2 separate regions of the Homo sapiens genome follow, and region 1 is linked to region 2. Evidence: promoter capture Hi-C in human tissues and cell types (Jung and others, 2019). All regions are on one chromosome and are shown on one strand. The core of a region is centred on a gene start or on the middle of the fragment in contact, and the rest is flanking DNA. Distances in the headings are between cores, read along the strand shown.

What was found. The method cuts DNA at HindIII sites, captures the fragments that hold promoters and counts their contacts. A contact is called where the count stands out against the background at its distance.
Region 1: a contact is called between a fragment that was not itself captured here and the fragment with the promoter of ZNF317 in region 2, in 1 of the 25 tissues and cell types used here (spleen).

What each region holds. Positions count from the first base shown.
Region 1 is chr19:9,552,464-9,555,264 of GRCh38, forward strand. No RefSeq gene overlaps it. Among named protein-coding and RNA genes, the nearest start is that of ZNF426-DT, 15 kb to the left of the region's middle. The HindIII fragment of the contact is 5,877 bases long and covers 1-2,801 here.
Region 2 is chr19:9,139,025-9,141,724 of GRCh38, forward strand. ZNF317 (zinc finger protein 317) reads left to right here and starts at 1,373. Exons shown (of 7, transcript NM_020933.5): 1 at 1,373-1,568. RefSeq lists enhancers at 1,036-1,135, 1,186-1,395. The HindIII fragment of the contact is 13,678 bases long and covers 1-2,700 here.

The DNA of each region.
Region 1 (2,801 bases), core at 291-2,790, 410 kb after region 2:
CGGTGGTCTCTGCAGGTCTCTGAGGGTCTCAGCAGAGACACTAGCTCCTCTCTTCTGCTAGTGGCACTGTCTGCTCAGCTCTGGCTGAGCCAGGGACATTTAGTGAGCCTCAGAGGGCAGGAAGTGCATGCCAATTGGCCCATGGGTGGCCATGGGCGGGCCTGGAAAAGGCACCAATTACCATTCCAGTTCATGGGACTGGCAGCCCAGCCACCAGCCTTCAGGCCGTCCCTGGCCAGAAGGAGGAACCTTACCAGGGACCTACCCCTTTCCCCCTGGGACTCTCTCATGTCTATCCTGCTGTTCATGGTGACCCGGCTTGGCCTGACTTTGCTCCAAGATAGGAGGGGGCGTGGACAGCAGGGAGAAGCCAGGCAGCTGGGGCAGGCATTAAACATTAGCCAGGCACAGTGGTGCATGTCTATAGTTCTAGCTACTCAGGAGGCTGAGGTAGGAGGACTGCCTGAGCCCAGCAGGCTGAAGCTGCAGTGAGCAGTGATCACACTGAGGTAGGAGGAATAATTTGACTCCAGAGGTGGGGCTCAGACCTGGACAAAATTGAGGACTAGCTAAAACAGGGATGGGGCAGAAGCAGCTTTCCATAAGACACGCCTACCAGTGAGCCATGTCAGTTTAACATTGCCATGGCAACACCCAGGAGTTTCCACCCCTTTCCATGGCAATGACCCGATGACCAAAGTTACCACCATTTTCCTACAAATTTCTGCATAAACTGCCCCTTAATCTACATGTAATTAAAAGTAGGTATAAATATGACCGCAAAACTGCCCTGAGCTGCTACTCTCAGCACACTGCCTATGAGGTTTCCCATAGGAGTAGTCACAAAGCTGTACCACCACCAGAGCTGAAACACTGCTTCTTCGATAAAGCTTCTTTCTTCTACCACCAGCTCACCCTGAATTATTTCCTGGCCAAGGCCAAAAACCCTCATTGGCTAAGTCCCAATTTGAAGCTTGCTTGTCCTACAGCAGCATGACTGCACTCCAGCCTGGGTGATGGAGTGAGAGCCTGGCTCAAAAAATATACTTTATCAAACAGAGGTATATTAGAGGTAAGTTAAGATAGAACAGTTTCTTAATTCTGAAAAAAACAAAACATTTGCGTAAAGAACAATCTTTTGAATAAAAGTCATAAAAACAGGCCAGGCGTGGTGGCTCATGCCTGTAATCCCAGCACTTTGGGAGGCTGAAGCAGGTAGATCAACTGAGGTCAGGAGTTCGAGACCAGCCTGACCAACATGATTAAATCCCATCTCTACAAAAAATACAAAAATTAGCTGGGCATGGTGGTGGGTGCCTGTAATCCCAGCTACTCAGGAGGCTGAGGTAGGAGAATTGCTTGAACCTGGGAGGTGGAGGTTGCTGTGAGCTGAGATCATGACATTGCACTCCAGCCTCAGCAACAGCGCATGACTCCGTCTCAAAAAAATAAAAAAGAAGCCCAGGCGTGGTGGCTCATACCTGTAATCTCAGCACTTTGGGAGGCTGAGGCAGGAGGATCAACTGAGGTCGGGAGTTCGAGACCAAACTGGCCAACATGGTGAAACCCCACCTCTACTAATAATACAAAAATTAGCCAGGCATCTTAGCGCACACCTGTAATCCCAGCTACTCGGGAGGCTGAGGCAGGAGAATCACTTGAACTCAGGAAGTAGAAGTTGCAATGAGCCAAGATTATGCCATTGCACTCCAGCCTGGGAGACAGAGCGAGTCTCTGTCTCAAAAAAAATAAATAAAATAAAATAAAAAGAATTTGCATTTGGGGAAGTTTGTCAAAGATGTTAGAAGGCTCAAAACATTTGATTGAAACAGGATAACAGCTCACTTGTTAGTAATCCATGTAAATACAGTGATAATCAAAAGTCATTAGTAGGAGTAAATAGAGTTACTAGGAAAAAATGAATCCTTTTAAAGCCCAGAGTTTTTTGTTGATTCTTTTTATTTATTTCAGGGGTAGATGGGGGACAGCGTCTCACTCAGTGGCCCAGGCTGGAGTGCAGCAGCACAAAAGTTCACTGCAGCATTGATCTCCCAGGCCTAAGTGATCTTCCCACCTCAGCCTCCCCAGTAGTTGAGACTACAGGCACACGTTACCACACCCAGCTAATTTTTGTATGTGTGTCTTTTTTTTTTTTTTTTTTTTTAAGAGATGGGCTTTCATCATGTTGCCCAGGCTGGTATCGAACTCCTGAACTCAAGTGATCCTCCCACCTCAGCCTCTCAAAGTGCTGGGATTCAGGCATGAAACACCATGCCCAACCAACCAGGTTTTTTTTTTTAAGTGATAAAAAACTTAATAAAGGCAATACAGGAAATTATCTCGATAATTTCTTGTAAAACCTTTCTTAGACCAGCTACCAAAAAGGTAAAGAAAAACCTTCTACAGTGTGATTATTTCTCCTTATGCAAAGTGCATTTAGATAACCTGGAAGTTGGCCAGGCATGGTGGCTCACACCTGTAATCCCAGCACTTGGGAAGCCGAGGCGGGTGGATCACTTGGGTCAGGAGTTCGAGACCAGCCTGGCCAACATGGTGAAACTCTTTCTCTACTAAAAAACACAAAAATTAGCCAGGGGTGGTGGCACACACCTGTAGACCCAGCTACCAAGGAGGCTGAGGCAGAGAATCACTTGAACCCAGGAGACAGAGGTTGCAGAGAGCTGAGATTGCGCCACTGAACTCCAGCCTGGGTGACAGAGCAAGAATCCATCTCAAAAAATAAAATAAAAATAAAAATAACCTGGAAGTTGAACGTGATGAAAAGTGTGCTTGGATTTAGT
Region 2 (2,700 bases), core at 123-2,622:
ATATATCATGTAATATATTATATGTAATATATGTATATAATATACTATATGAAATACATATTATATATTATATGTATTATTATATGTATATATGCTATATATTATGGTGTATATATTATGTATTATGAAATATATATTACGTTATGTAATATAGATTATATATTATATATGAATATCTTATATCCATATATATTCCATACATACATTTTATATGTGTGTGTATATATATATATACGCACCATGGTCCATCCCCTCAATAATATATTTTCCAAAACCTCAAATTTCCTTCTCTCTGTCTTTTATAATACCTGCCCTGGATAATACTAACCATCTGTCTCTCCTGCCTATATAATTCTGCCCCTACTGGTTACATGGGAAGCCTTGGTTTCCTAAAGTGTTGAGATTACAGGTGTGAGCCACTGTACCCAGCCTGATTCTGGAATTTTGTATATGCAGACTCCTCCTGCTAAAATAATATATATTATATATAATATATATTCCATAATATATATAACATACATACATATATTATTTTAGCATATATTATATAATATACGGTAATAATACACATAATACATAATTATAATAAATATGATATAATATATATTCCATTGTATAAAACATATAATATATATAACGGAATATTATTCAACCTTGAAATAGAAGGAGGTCCTGACATTTATCACAAGATGGGTGGACCTGGAGGACATTACGCTAAGTGAAATAAGCCAGACACAAAAAGAAAAATATTGCATGACGTCACTTACATGAGGAACTTTTTTTAATCAAGAGAGACAGCTCAAATACACAGAAATAAAGAATGAGGCAGTTGGGGAAGAAAATGGGAAGATGTGGGTCAAAAAATACAAAATAGCAGATATGCAGGATGAACACCACACAGGTGATGGTGATTTTACGCCCTTCCCAAGGTGTCATTCAGAGGCACGTGGTCTCCATCTGACCCTCACTGGTGATATTGATTTGATCACCTGGTCCAGATGTTGTCCAATTTCTTCGCTGTACAATTTCTATTACTTTTTCTCCATTCCAACATACGAGCAGTTTATAGAGAGGCATTTAAGGCAATTCAAATATTCTGCTCGTCATGCAAATGTCCCCCAGTTGTGTCATGTAGATGACAATTCTTGCCTGATTCAACCTTTACCACTACGATGGCTACAAAATGCTGTGGGTTGTGGTTGAAAATTTGAGTCTTGAGTAGAAATTGGAGAAATATGCTGGACCGTCAGATTCCACCGGGGCACGGCCGCCATGCCAATCCAAACTTCAAAACTACAATTCCCAGCATCCTCTCCGCCCCGCTTCCGTATTAGACGCCGCCAATGAAGTCCCGCGAGAATTGGAAGGCGGCAGTGAAGCGGAAGCCATTACTCTCTGGAGTCGATTGCCCCGAGACACATGGGCCAAGGAGGGGTCAGCGGCGAATTCTTTCGGCCTGTTGGGGACCCCTCGTGTCCCCACGCCAGACTGGACCTCCCGTATGAACTTCTCTTCGCATCGGCGGCGGCTTCCGTCACCTCCGCTCCCCCGATCCTATTCCCAGTCGTGTAAGCCCTGCTTTCCTTAACCCTTCTCCCCCTCAGTTCCAGGGGTCACGGGAGGCCTATCTGGCGGTGAGGACTAAGAGGGTACGAGGGTCGGGGGCTAAAGAGCTAGGCATCCAGACGAGGGGTGCGTTTAGATCTCGCGATCAGCGATATGAAAAGCTGGGGACGCGAAGGATAAAATTGGACCATTGCAGCTAGTGATGAGAGAAGCATTGGTCACCTGATCCTGAAAAGCCCTAAGTCTCTGGTGGGGGCGGAAAAGCCCGGCTGAAGTGAATTCAAGAGTTTGGGGGCAGTTCAGGAGATTGGGGGGCGTCAGGATTTGGACATCGCGAGGAGAAATCACCTTCTTTCTGCGCTGTAGTCAATTTTATCTCGTGAATGTCAGCACATTGGTGTTCTTATTAGCACTTACCTTGAGTACCTTTTATATTTTTAATTTAAGACCTTCTGGTTGCACTTTTTTATTTATTTTAATTTTAGTGGACTCTTGTAAATAGCCTATATGTATATTTACTATTCAGTTCAACATTTTGTTAATTAACTTGAGTTAGTCCAGTTATACTTATCGTGATTATTAATATTTTCCATTGAATTTTACCGTCTTATTTTGTGGTGTGTCCTTTCCTATGCACATATTTTAACACTGGAAAATAGGACATACATGCAAAAAAAGTATGATTACACACACACGCAGACTTACACACACTTAAAAGGACAACAGTAAAGCGAATTTACAAACCAGGCCAAGAAAGAGATTATTAAATCTCAGAAAGCTGTGTGCCTCTTCTAAACTGCATCCTCCTCTCCCACCAATACTGTCTCCGTGGATTTGACTGCGTATACATCTTTTCCAGAAAATATATTTCCTAAATTTTGGTAATTATTTGTGAATGAACTCAGGCGCTTCAGTATTTTTGGAAACAATCTTTTTCTGTATTGATTCAAGCACACCTTTGTAATTTAGAGATTTCTAAATATCTTGTAGATGAAGTACTTACACCTAGCCATTCTTTTTCAGGAATGTCATGGCTTAAATTCTAGTCAGTTCACCAAATTCCACATACTGGACTTTTGTTTTCAAGTTGTGGTGAATCTATATTTGAACTTTGGGAATATTGTCGTTTTTATG